Regions from separate parts of the Homo sapiens genome. Here regions 2, 3 and 4 are each linked to region 1. Evidence: promoter capture Hi-C in 16 types of primary human blood cells and fetal thymus (Javierre and others, 2016). All regions are on one chromosome and are shown on one strand. Each heading gives the region's core, a stretch centred on a gene start or on the middle of the fragment in contact. The rest is flanking DNA. Distances are from core to core; before and after follow the strand shown. Region 1 holds the start of NFIB (nuclear factor I B). Region 2 overlaps LINC01235 (long intergenic non-protein coding RNA 1235). Region 3 holds the start of LINC01235 (long intergenic non-protein coding RNA 1235). Region 4 has its middle 220 kb from the start of LINC00583.

Region 1 (3,431 bases), core at 530-3,029:
GGATGGGCCCGCGAGGACCCGGTAGCCCCAGCGCCCCCCGGATCCCCCAGCTAGGTAGACTCGGAGCCCCAGGCGCTCACTTTTCCTCCCTCCATTGTCTGGGAGGCCTTTGCTTCCCCCTCGTCCCCATCCACCCCAAGCAGAAAACTGGATTTGGGGGGCGGTGTGTGTATGTGGGCGGGGGGTGCAGAAAGGGTGCAAGGCGAACCGCCTTCTTCAAAATCCCTGGAATCAAGTTCATTCACTCGGAGCCTGCACGGGCGACGGGGTGGGGGCGGGGCAGCGCCGCGGTGGGGAGCCGGCGCGGGCGCCGAGCGGCTCAGGGCCCGCAGCCTCTGGAGGGCTGCAGCGGCGCGCGCGCGCCCGCCGGCCCGCCCCGCAGCCCCGGGCGCGCCGCGGCCCCGCCCCGCCTGCACCCGGGCGGGTAGGGAGACGCTTTCCGCCGGCGCCCCGGGCCCCGGGGGGTGGGGATTGGGAGCCAGCCAGCGGGGCTGCAGGAGGAGGAGGAGGAGAGCGAAGCCGGGCGCGGGGAGGAGGTGGAGGGAGCAAGAGGCGGCGGCGGCGGCTCGGCCCGGTCCTCCCGCTCAGAGCGAGGCCACGTGCACGGGGCACCCCCGGGGAGGGCGGCAAACCGCGGCGAAGCGCCGCGCGCCGCGACTGCCTCGGGTGCGGGCCCCTGGTGGGCAGACCCGGGACGAACCCGCACCCCCTCCCTATCCGCGAACCCGGGCTCCGGGCGGGGCCGTCGGGGGCTGGGCGCCGCACCCCCCTGGTCCACGCCGGCGCGCCCCAACTACTTGAGCCCAAGTTCGCTCAGGTCCCCGCCTGCTCGGCCTCCCCCTTTTCCCGGCAGCCGCAGGCTCCGCGGACTGAGCCCGCCCCGGGTGCGAGTGTCCGCGCCCCAGCCCCGGCCTGGGGGCGGCCTGGGTGTGAGGGAATTTTCCACTCGTTCCTTTCTCGGGCTCAGACGGTTTCGGTGCTTCTCCCACTCGGATGTTCCCGCGGCTTAAAAGAGTCCGCAGCGAGCACCGAAATACCTCTTCCAGGGCGGGTTTTCGGGGGTGTGTATGTGTGTGCTGGTGTGGGGAGGGCAGCGGAAAGAAGAGCTATTTTGGAAAAAAAAAAAAAGTCATGGTTCTGTAGCACCGGTAGGATACCTTTAACAAATGAGGGAGAGGTGGGGGGAGAGAAGGAGAAGGAGGAGGAGGAGGAAGGTGGGGGGGCGGGGGGTGTGGAGAGGCTGGTGCAAAAGGAATGCGCGTTTGCAGGAGGAGGAGTAAAGCGATGATTGTGTAATTAAATAATAAAACAATCCTTAAGTCTGATTTGGAGAGAGCTCGAGCGGGGTCCAGAGGGTGGAACCGGTGAATTTTTCAACTTCCAAGTTTTGCAACGAAAGAAAGCAAGAGAGGGAGGGAAAAAAAAGAGCCTAGAGCAGAAAAGAGAGGAGTTTGGAGCCGAGCGGGAGAGCGGGATTTATCGTTTGGAATTTTTCAGGAGATCGTTTTGATACCCCTGGGCTCTGGGCAGCGGCGGCAACAGCAGCCTCCACGCTCGGCCGGGTCAGACGCGGGGCGAGGCGGGCGGGCGGGCGGCCGGGCGCCGAAGACCCGGCGCGGGCGGCGGCGGCTGCTGCTGCCGGGGACCACGCGCCGCGAGCCTCTTCCGCCCCAGAGATCAGCGCTCGCGCCCCCTCCCTCACCCCGGCCTCTCCCTTCTCCCCCATCCCACCCCGCCCCCACCCCGGCCCTCTCCCGCGCGCGCCCCGCCACCCGCGCGCACTCGCTCACGCTGCCCCTCGCGCACACACATGGTCGGCTCGCGGCAAAGTTTCGCCTGCGATCACCACTCCGGGATCCTGCCGCAGTGCTTGGGGCTGTAACCTTGAACTTTCCCAGCGCGGTGACACATTCTCCCCGCTCTCCCTCCCGCCCGCCCGCTCGCCCTCCTGCGCCCTCCCGCGCCCCCCTCCCCGCCTTTTTTGAAAAAGCATTTTACCACCAACCACCACCCCAATCCAACCCACACCGAACCTTCGCGCACCCCCTACACCCCAACAACAACAACAACTGCAAAATAGAAAACAAATCCCCAAACCCAGGCGAAAAGCAGCCAACACCGGCGGCGGCGGCGGCCTCGGCAAGCACGGCCAGCGCGCTCGGACTGCAAGAGGGTTAAAAGTGTAGATTGGATTTCACCCCTGGAAATCTAGCACGCCGAGTGAACTTGAATCTTTGGCTATTTAAGGAGGACTGGGTTTGTTGTGAAGTTGCGGTGATCCAGCGCAGAGCCCCGTCCTGATTGATCGCATCGCGGGGCTCAGATGACTGTAAAATGAATAGATGAAATTCTTGCTTCTCGAAGATTTTCTTGGGCATCTCCCGGAAAGTGCGTTTTAAGGCGAAGTCATGATGTATTCTCCCATCTGTCTCACTCAGGTACATGTCTCGGTCGCTTTCTCGAGCTTTCTCTCTGGCCCGAAATGCCTTTGTTTTGTTTTGTTGCGGACAATTAGCGGCTTGAGTTAACCTCCGCACATCCCCGTCCCTTGGAGAAGTGGCCCGGAGTTGCAGCGGGCGTCGCGGGGCGGCGTGGGAGCCGGGAGCGGCCCCTCGCCACGGCCACTGCGAGCGCCCAGCCCCGCGCCCTGGGCACGGAGCGCGGGCGCTGGGCCGGGCAAGGCCGCCGGGGGGTGGGCAGGGCCGGGACCTGTAAGTGCGAGGCCCCGTGCGGCCCCTCAAGTGCCCGTTGTGGTGCGGCATCCCCGCCCGGGGTGCCCGTAGCCCCTCTCAGCAGCTCGCGCGTTGAGGTGGACTCGGGCTTTGGAGGACTTTACGGGGGACTAAGCTTTTAAAAACAGCCAGTGAACTTGGGCGAGGGGACTGTAGCACGAGTCTGTGTGGGCGCCGCTGGACTGCGCTGCAGGCGGTGGGCGGGCGACGAATCGAGTCGGAGGTTGTGGTCCGGGGACCCATTCCTTTGCTTTATTTGGGGATCTGAAACCCTGGTCCATAGTGACCTGCTGCACTTTGGGGTTTCTAGTGACCGCACCACAAAGGCAGTATTTACGTTGACACGAGTTAGTTGGTCTTGGTGATTGTTAAGGAGTTTTTAGAACGTGTTCCTTTTGTGGAAACCTGTTCATTTGACGATATTTGGGCGTAGCTCGTAAGGCATTTTAAGTAATGCTGGTAGAAGTAAGGTCATTTTTTTCGACTTTGAGAATTGTCCTAAGACCTTAGGAATAATGTTATGAAATAAAACACTGGTTTTATACTTTTTAGAAACACGATTTGTATCACTTTAAGCCAGACGGTCAAATAGAAAAGCGGCGAGACCCAACAGACTTACCTGGGGGCAGTTTTCATCGCTGCCCAGGGAACTAACAACTGACAAAGTAACTAAAATATCTTAGCCCAGAACTGTTATTT
Region 2 (3,431 bases), core at 499-2,998, 900 kb after region 1:
TAATCAAAAACCTAAAGCTTGCTACCAGAAAATAGGGTTTTGGGTTTTTTTATTTTTCATTTACTATATTTATATGACTAGGCCCATGTCCCATCCCCACCTCCCACATGGTTCCTATATTCACTGCCAATTTTTAGGAGTAAATATATGATGTAATTTTTCTCCTAACAAGCTGCTGTGACTGTTGGCAGTAGAAAAAAATAGGAGTTGGACACAAAGGAAATAAATGGAAGAACAGTTGAAGAGGCCCAATGACTCCTATTGGGTAAAAATGAAAGGAAGAGTGTTTGATCACAAACCATATCTCTGAGGTTGCTTTCTCCAAATACTGTGAATGCAAAATAATTTCATTCAAAAGCAAATATGAGTTTGAGGATATTTTATTTTACCTGAGGAAATCAAAAGGAATAAAGAAAGAAAAACTAATGATCGTCAGTACCTATATTACACAAGGGCACAAAGTACTTGGCCAGAAGGCATCAGGTCGGAGAACAGTTCTTTACCGACTGCCTCCATTTTGTCCAAACCAGGATTTCTTCTGATTGATTGGTGCCAGTTTATATGGATTGTTAAATATTTTGAATAGCACCCTTGGCTAGTGCTCTGTAAACACTGACTTAATTCTCACCACAAGCCACTGAGGTTAAGTATTATTATCCCAATGTACAGATAAAGGGATTGTGAAATGAGGAGGAACATTCATGTCCACAGTGGTTTGAGACTCTTCCTCAGGGGTCAACTCTTATTCCTAAACAAGTACAGAGCTGTACCTTTCGCATCTCTGTATCTAGTGTCTAGGAGAGTCCTGCCATGTACTTGGTGCTCAAAAATGGTTTACTCAATTGAATTTAACAGACAACTGTTCATTTTACTGGGATGAAGAATATCTCCCCTACACGTACAAGTTTCACATATAGGTGAAACTTGGTTCACATGTGGGGCCCAGCTCAGGATTTTGCAGTCCCACCTTCTCTTTCAGACTATAATTATAGGAATTTAAGAGTTCTACCAGTTTACCCCAGCAATAAATACATTGCAGAAAATGTATTACATTAATCGTTCTCCCTCATTATAATGCATTTCTTCTCAAGAAAGAGGCAAAAAATGCTAGAACTCTACCCTAAGTGAATGTGATACAGAGGAATATTTAATACCAGTGTATTTATAGCAGTGTTATTTGTATTAGACACTGAAAACAAACTAAATGTCTAAGGATGGGAGAATGGCCTAATTAATCATAGTTAAGATGCATGATGGAATGTTACGTAGTCATGGTGAATCACATTTTAATTAATTTGAGATTTTGTATTTAATAAGCTTTTTATTGAAGTGTAATATACAGAACAAAAAGTGCACAAACTATAAGTATAAATAATTCTCATTAATTTAAAAAGAATTAATAATGAGGCAACTACTTAATGGTGCCTCTCAAAAACTAACTTCTTTTCTCCTCAAAGAGATTCATTATTTTAACATCAAATAGGATATAGGGAAATAGCTATTATCACATAAGTGAAAAAGGATGAAGCAAATTGTACAGTGTTCTCTAATTATGTGATTATTTATATGTAATTAAATGTGCAGAAAAATGCTAGAAGGAAATAACTAAAATGTTATCAGTGGTTGTATCTTAGCAATCAGAATAGGGGTACTTTTATTTTTTTCTTATCGTAAATATACATGGCACTAATAAATACTTTTCAGGATAAATGTTATTTAAAGGAAACAAAATATGTTAAAATCCATTGTAAACATGTTTTTTTCATATTTGTCAGAAGCTGGCACTATTTTTCTAGTCCTAAAATGTAGAAGAGCTCAAAAAGTTGCCTAGAAAATTAGGCTATTACATACGATTATATTTAAAGCAATATATCTCCTATTAGAACATGGATAAAATTATGATATGCTTTTGATTATACCATGGACATTAATTACTGAGAACCATAAGTTCCTACCATGAAACTACACATGGTATGGTTAATTCTCCTAGCCAGTGTGATTTTTGCATTGCTGCCAGCACAAACCTTATAAGGTTCTCATTGTGCCAGTTTTGTCACATTCCAGAGAATTTTCTTCCCATCCTTATGGCTTTGCTTGGAAAAGAATGACTAGAAAATGATGCTGGAGATCATAAGGTCAGTCTAGCCGAAATTGTACTGACAAAGCAGCAGAAGCTTCTGGAAACAGATCTAGAGTTCTGGAAATCGGCCAAGGTCCAGGGGTGTGTAGATGACATGTTCTGCATTTTGCTTAAAATTAACTAGAAAAAAAATTGTATCTGTTTGCCTTTGTTTTTACAGAAGTCAGATAATATATTGATGTGAGAGTAGAGCTGTGGAGAAAGATATAGCTCCTAAAAATGCTTTAAATATATAATCAAGATTAGTTGGATTCTTTCCTTCTTGTCCTTCCTCCTAATATTTCTTTCTTCAATTGCATGTTTATTTTGAAAACAGATTAGAATTTACTATTCAGAGGGATGTATGAGATCTACAGGGAATGAAGCAAGAACTAAATAGAAAACAAATGGAAAGGAATTCAACAAAATAATTCACAATATGATTTATCTAGGAAGAGGGAATCAGAAAAACTTTCCTAATCAGAAAAGCTTCCCTCTTGGGAAGTCCATTTTCCCAGAAGGAGCTGGAGAAAGGAACAAATGCTTCATCACTGATGGTAAAAGCCTGTCCTCTATGCACACAGAGGGCCCTGGTTCTGCTCTGCACTGTGGAGAATTTCCCAGACTGAGTTGCCCAGGTTGTGGAGAGATTGAAAACACTGAGTTGGGAGAAAAGGAGTGGAAATGGTTAGGAGTAACTATGGCTCAAACTTCATAAATAGTAATTATGTTTACAAATTTTAAGCTTCAAACTGCTCTCCTTATGGTTCAGAAAGATACAATTTTTCCTGGAAAGAAAAGCCCAGAAAAGCGAATGTCTTAAAAAAAAAACAATCACTGCTTTAATAGTCAGACTGTAGAGTTTAGTGGCCAGCAGTGACCCAAAGTGGTATTTTTCAAGCCTTGACATTTATTTAATGCCTTTAATGTGGTTATATAAAAGTGTTTCACATACACACTATTAATATTTAGGTGCCAGGTGGCTGCTATGCATAGTGTTTTATTATTTATAAGTCTGTTTCTCTGGTTCACAGGGAGATGAGTGGCTGTCATTGACCCAAGAAGGATTCTTTTAACATCATACATTAATTTCTTCAGAGAAAGAATAACATTACCTTATAGTTTGGTGGTAGAGCAAAATATATTAATTTTCTAGATAGGGTCAATAGAATCGTATGGCAATTGTGCATCTGTAGCTAGTGAGGACTATAAGCTTGTGCATATTGCTTATCGTCTCTGAGACTCGGTTTCATCATCTGTCCAATGGGAATGTTAACGATATTTTTTGAAGGAACACAAGCCAAATACCTGT
Region 3 (3,431 bases), core at 241-2,740, 880 kb after region 1:
ATTTATTTTATTTATTTATTTATTTATTTATTTATTTATTTATTTATTTTGAGATGGAGTCTCACTCTGTCTCCCAGGCTGGAGTGCAGTGCCATGATCTTGGCTCACTGTAACTTCTGCCTCCTGGGTTCAAGCAATTCTCATGCCTCAGCCTCCCAAGTAGCTGGGATTACAGGCGCCCGCCATCGCACCCAGCTGATTTTTGTATTTTTAGTAGAGACGGGGTTTCACCACATTGCCCAGGCTGGTCTCAAACTCCTGACCCAAGTGATCCACCCACCTCAGCCTCCCAAAGTGCTGAGATTGCAGGCGTGAGTCACCGTGCCCAGCCCTAGTTCTCAGATATATAAACGGAATAATATACATAATTAGAAACATTAATTTGCCTGTTATTCCCATAAAGGATTTTTTTCTATATACTAAAAACAAAATTTTGGAGGACCAAGTGATAATATTCCAGAAAATCATAGCAATATGGGCTCTTTCAATGACCAACTGAAGCTGAAAAAGCATCCTGGCTGAGGGGAGGAAATATTATTAGCCACTTCCGCTGTCTCACACTAAAACAAAGTACACAAGGAGGAAGTAGAGGTGATGCAAGCAGTGAATGAGAAATCAGGAAAATTTCCATTAAACTCTGCCTAAGTCCTTTAGGGCTCTGTCTCTGTTTTGTTCCTCTTAAGGTTGTCACTTCTATGCCTAATGATTATCTCATTGGTTCCAGGACATTGTTACCATTTACCTCCACTGGATATCTATTTTCTTTCAAAAAGGTAAGAAGCAATTTATGTCCTATTATAATTTTATTTGTAATCTTAATTAATCCTACATGTCCAAGGTAAAGACAGGTAATCATTACGTGTGTGTGTGTGTGTGTGTGTGTGTGTGTGTGTGTGCATATATATATATATATATATATATATATATATATATATATATATCTTGAGTCTACTATCTGGTACACTATTGGGGCTTAAGGAAACAAATAACAACAAAAAATCCAAAAAACACCCATCATACAGCATTTGCTACACTTCTTTTTACTGAAAGTCCTACTACCTACCAATTCACACCCCACCTGCCAACTCCCTCACCTGAAAGCAAGAAGGAATTGTATTTTCACTCCAGCATGTAATTGGCAGATCCATATTTTGTTTTTGCTTGTTTTTTTTCTTTCAGCACAATCAACGTGCCTTTTCCCTGATTTTCTCTGCCAAACATATCAGATTGTGGGAGGTTTATGGATACACAGTACTTCACAGGCAACCTGAAAGGTAGGGAGACTGCGAGGAGATACTGCAAAAAAAAAAGTGTGATGGAGAAAGCATGAGTGACTACTGGAAGACAGACCTGAGATAATTATTGAAGAGATGACAGTGAACATTACCATGATATGTTTCACCAGGTTGTGTTTCAAAGATAATGAAGAACTATTAAATCATTTTATTTTCTTTGAGATATTAAAGAATAAATGAAAGGAATATGCAGATGATAATTATAAATAACAATTATGATAAGTTTGAGTAGCTAGCTACTTTATACAACACTCCAGAAATATTTGTTATGCAAATGCATAAACTCTACCCAGTGGCTTTATAGATCACTGGCATTAGGGCTGGAGCTATTGTGCAGGAATAGGATGGTGGCTTAACTCAGTTGGGGGTCATTTTATTGCCAGTTTAACTGGTGTTAAATTAGTGGGTATTTAACTGTCACTAACACAATTTAGGGCTCAATTCGCCAAAGTATCATTTTTACTAATATTTTAGTGAAAGTGAAGAATCATTCCTCCCGATGCTGTAGTGTCATGCTGAAGGCACCACTGTTCTCTAGTCCACAGTAATGAAACTTGCATTAACAAAAGTGGGCTGGATGCCTACTAAGGAGAAAAATAAACTCCTTGAGAACCTGGTATCTTGCTGTAGTTTATTGCAGTGAAACCATTTTAACATCCCTTTTCACTGAATGAGATTTTTAAAATCCGTAAATCATGAGCCAAAATAGTATAATCCATGCAATATTTCATGGAAGACCTTTGCTGTAAGATTATTGTGTTGAACTCCCAAATTTTTATTTTAGGGAAAAAACACACACGCACACACACGCACGCACACACACACACACACACATTTCCCCACCAACACAAGAAACATGATCAACTCCAAATTCAAAAAGATTTACAAATGCCACAACACAGTTATCTACCAGCAAACATATCATTTCTTTGTTTCATAGGACACCAAGGATGAATAATTCATGAACCCCATTTCACATGCTTATTGTGTCTGGTGGCAAAGACCCCGCCCGCTCAGCCCCAGGAAAGCTCAGGCACTTTGCTGCAGGCACAGTGCTCTGTGCCATCCAGGGACCAGCCGTGTGCTCTCGAGTTACTGGAGCAGCGCAAGCAGCTCCAGTGGTCTCAGCTGTGGAGACAGCTGTTTGCCCACCGTCTGCGATGGCAGAAATGTGTGGTAGGCTTCCCCCTAACAGCATGGCCCCCGCTACACACCACACACACACACAAACAACTCCCAGGCCGTGCATCATACACACACCACCACCCAAGGGGTGAAAGAAGCCCCATCATGTGGGGACCAGAATGAGCAATGCACCACAGTTTAAAAACAACTCTTTATCTTGTATGATAACTACTGGAACAGAGGTGGTAGCCTCCGAACCTAAACCTTGTCATTTATGTATCAAAAGATTTGTGCATGCGTGAAATTCAAAATGATTTATTGTTTAGTTATTGCCTTATTTACTTACTTAATGGATTGATTGATGTGCTAGGATCCCACAGACAACGGAGGCTTTTTTTTTTTTTTTTTTAAGATTGTTTTAAAGGAACTAGATTGCAAGCAAAGTTTCAGTAGCACAGTAAGTCAGCTCCTCCTTACTGGTTTGTATTCATAATGAGTTCCTTTTGGCTCTTGCCTGCTACCTGTCTCTGGCTATTCATTGACACAAAATACTGCACCTTGCACACTGTGAGAAGTGGCAGGGATGAAAGAATATTAAGCACGAAGGAGTAAAATATGCAGAAAAATCTGGATCCTGCAGCACGTTTTAGCCAATAGAAGCATCTATAGTAGTAACTCTTGCATGGTGCTTGGGCTGAAAGCGATAGAGCTGCTTTAACAATGGGAGTTATCAGGATTCCATCTGGCATCATTTCTCGACAGAGGAGGGAGTTGCAGACAGAGGGGTCTCACATTTGAATTCCTCTTGTAGACCTAGTATCATCTGTTTCTCTTACGGACCTTGAACTTACTTTCATTTTATAGGGATATACTACACCTGAACTGGTTCTTGTAATAAAATTATCTAAAAACTTTGAAATAACTGTTATAAGAAAAGTTCCACAAACCTCTTACTAGCTTGCCTCTTGAATTTTATTTATTATTAGGAGTGCTAATTTTTTAATCACTCAT
Region 4 (3,431 bases), core at 622-3,121, 610 kb after region 1:
ATCACACTCTGGGGACTGTTGTGGGGTGGGGGGAGGGGGGAGGGATAGCATTGGGAGATATACCTAATGCTAGATGACGAGTTAGTGGGTGCAGCACACCAGCATGGCACATGTATACATATGTAACTAACCTGCACATTGTGCACACGTACCCTAAAACTTAAAGTATAATAATAAAAAAAAAGAGTTACTTGGAGCTTTCCCTTATTTGTAATAGAACTAGCAATGCTTATCTTAGAGGGCTGCTGTGACATTTAAGTAATATAACGTATGTAAAGTACTTAGCAGAATACCTAGCACAAACACAGTGCTTAATACATTGCAGTCATTTTTCTTACTATCTTAGGACAACCCCAGGCAGGCATATCAGATACCAATATTAGAATGTGAAAAAAAATTCAAGACTCCACCTACTAGAGAGAATGGGACTTCTAAAAGAATGCTCAGATTTGGTTTGAAATGGTTCAGGGAAGAACTGAGCTTAAACATTGAAGGTTTTCAGCATATGCCTCCGGGTAGGTCTAGATCAGAAAATGTCTAACTATATAGACACAAAATTTCCTCCATAGTCTTTCCTTGTCCCCTAAATATTTGCAGATATGTGTGTATTAAGTTTTCCAAAGAGATTATTCCTTTTTGAATGTTGGCTGCTTTGATCATTTTCCCCTAACATTTAAATAATGCAGTGACACAAAATTTCTTTCCAGAATCATATTGATGTTCAATTTTCTTCTACTTCAACCCATAAAAAGCATTCCAAATTCTTTTATGATTTATTTCCTTTTTTGAAAAGCTTCAACAGCATTTGCTATTTCCAAAGAATGCATTATCTCCAACCCGTTCCTTCATATTCTGGAACTAACATTTATACACTCATCTGCCCTCCTTCGACCCCATTTCCTTACTCTGTAAATTCTCATCCTTATATTTACTTAAAAAGTGAATGTTCTTCCCAGTGCTCTAACTTGCAGGTCAGCAACTGGGGTAAGTAAACTTAGGACCAGACCTCCCATCACAATCATATTCAAGACCCATGATCATCTTCAGGATCATCTTTTGTCTTACTGCATCCCATTCTGCTTAATTTTTTTAATGTAAGACATACCTGCATTGTTACAAAACAGTGGGGAAGCCAGGTAAAGTAACCTCATAAGAGTTATTCTCTTCTCCTGTGCTTGCTGTCTGGGTAAGAGCAGGGCATTTTTGCCCTGGATGTGAGTCAGCAGTATTACCATATAAGCAGAGTCGTGCAAAGGGTGCTTTCAGTTCCCTTTCCATGTGGGCTCAGGAACTTATGTTTCTTGGCATATAATGGAGGAATAGTCTGATTCATTATTTCCCCAAAGATAAAGCCATTGTTGAGAACCTTGGGATGGGCCAACTTGCCTTCTGCTGTATACAGGGAAGTTTACCCCCCAGGTTATTTACAATGAGTTATAAAATCAAATATTCAGAATCTTCTTCCTAGTAAATCATCACACATATATTTGCACGCTATTCTACATACACTTGTATAATAAACTAGGTAGTTTTACAAAATCATCCAAGATTCCTAACTTAAGGGAGGTAAAACAATTAATGAGACAATTGTGTTCAATTTTACTACGTGGTTGGAGCCAAAGAAATACATGGCACAACCAAGAGACCTGTCCAACAGTGGGCCAGTTCTTCTAGGCTGGTTTTGCTTACTCCTTCTATGGGCATTTGTTATAGACTTGGAGTAAAAAGTTCTTAAGATGAATAACAGTAGCAGTAGTTACGTCTGTTTCAATATCTACATGTATGTGTTATTTACGCAGGCACTCTTTCTCAGCTCTAATTTCATTACCTGTAACTTAATTGCATTTATTTCTAATATTTTTTTCTATAATACAGAATTCAAATCCTAGCTTTACTACTTCTTAGATATGTGACATTGGCAAATAATTTAGATTTCCAAGCCTCAGTTTCCTTATCTATAAGTTGGAGATAATGCCTCATGGAGTTCTTATGAGGATTAAAATACGAAAGAAAGTGTCTGACAGGGAGTAGGTGCTCAAAAATTGCTGATTTTCTTCTTTTTCTACCTCTTACTGCACCCCATTCTGCTTAATTTTTTTTTATGTAAGACATACCTCCGTGGTTTCAAAACATCTGGCTGAAGGGTGAAAATGAACACAATCACCCAGGTGTTTGGCCTGCATGATGACAGATATCAAACACTTAGAACCATCTGGGTGATTGGCATATTTTCTTTTTCACTTTTATCCAGATGTATGTGGATATAGCCTTGGCCAAAAGGAAAAAAATCACCAGAGTTTTTCTTAAATCCTAAATTAATACTTTTTCTAAAAAATACTATTATTTGAATATCATTCATTTATTTCTTTTGAAAGTTTTCTTGTTCAAGATGCTTTTGAAATAAGATTGTTGCTTAATTTCATTTCCTGTAACCTAGGAATTTTTAAAAAAGAAGGAAATGACTCCATAGATTTCAAACCCCTGTGTTTCTATTCAAGATAATTAAGGACAAGAAACACTAAGTGGTGATTTCAAGACACAGAGTTAGATAGAAGCAGAGCTGGGACAAAAATTGTTGCTTGACATTAAGCTGAAGACACCTGTTCACTACTGCCTATCTTTTTTGCATCTATGTCACATGCATTTTTACAAATATGCACAAAGAACCACATACAACTAACTTTTATACACATAGGACACAAAGATAATTCTAATTTTCTTCCTGACAGTCATATTACTGTAACACAACTTTTTTTCCAAATATTTTTTGAAACTTGCTAGTAAGCCCAAGAGAATAAACCAGGCTTCACTGTACTCAGTCACACGTGCATCCAGTAACTGCACTCTGACATCTGCCATGCAGGGCATTGCTTAAATAGATGTCGTACTGAGATCTGGTATCCCGTGAGCAGCTGATGCAATTCTCCTCAGTCACAGGGATGAAGCTTGGATAACATTGCTGGCTCTGAGAAATCCCCAAGTCACAAAGAAATGATTCCATTGACCTAGCGGCTTTGCACTCCCAATACAACATGTTCTTCAGCAGCTTCCCAAGGGAGAAAATAACGTGAGAGTTTTTAAGAGTGCTGAAAGCTTCCCCTCTAATCAGCCTGTGTGGATTCTGCTAGCATTCCAAGGCGTCTCAGACAATCCCTGGAAAACTTTGGGGACTCAGTGAGGTTTTCTAAACATTTTTTCTGCCTGAAGATACTAAAGATAAGCAGCTTCACATAATTACATTGTTATTTCAACACGAACACAACTTATCGACTGCCATTTCAGTCTCAAAACAACTGTACATCTCAAAGAAGCCCTCCCTTATAAATTCTCAACCCAACAGGGTATTGCTTTTGTCCAATTATTTTTTAGGGTTGGGGGAAATCAGAAGACTAGCATATCTTAAAGCATTTACTTTAAAAACCTCTGTTCTG

The links. Contacts are between HindIII fragments. The CHiCAGO score rates a contact against its expected background, and 5 or more counts as called.
Region 2: a contact is called between a fragment that was not itself captured here and the fragment with the promoter of NFIB in region 1, in 1 of 17 cell types (M1 macrophages). The highest score is 5.7, in M1 macrophages.
Region 3: a contact is called between a fragment that was not itself captured here and the fragment with the promoter of NFIB in region 1, in 2 of 17 cell types (M2 macrophages and endothelial precursors). The highest score is 7.7, in M2 macrophages.
Region 4: a fragment that was not itself captured here is called in contact with the fragment with the promoter of NFIB in region 1 in 1 of 17 cell types (endothelial precursors); the score reaches 6.7 in endothelial precursors.

The regions. Positions count from the first base shown.
Region 1 is chr9:14,312,489-14,315,919 of GRCh38, reverse strand. It overlaps NFIB (nuclear factor I B), which reads left to right and starts at 1,779. Exons shown (of 11, transcript NM_001190737.2): 1 at 1,779-2,438. The coding sequence starts at 2,409. RefSeq lists a silencer at 2,076-2,370. The HindIII fragment of the contact is 4,177 bases long and covers 1-2,849 here.
Region 2 is chr9:13,411,248-13,414,678 of GRCh38, reverse strand. All of the region lies in intron 2 of LINC01235 (long intergenic non-protein coding RNA 1235), which reads left to right. Among named protein-coding and RNA genes, the nearest start is that of LINC01235, 18 kb to the left of the region's middle. The HindIII fragment of the contact is 857 bases long and covers 1,320-2,176 here.
Region 3 is chr9:13,430,243-13,433,673 of GRCh38, reverse strand. LINC01235 (long intergenic non-protein coding RNA 1235) reads left to right here and starts at 2,345. Exons shown (of 3, transcript NR_033863.1): 1 at 2,345-2,471. The HindIII fragment of the contact is 5,522 bases long and covers 1-3,431 here.
Region 4 is chr9:13,705,683-13,709,113 of GRCh38, reverse strand. No RefSeq gene overlaps it. Among named protein-coding and RNA genes, the nearest start is that of LINC00583, 220 kb to the left of the region's middle. The HindIII fragment of the contact is 2,152 bases long and covers 796-2,947 here.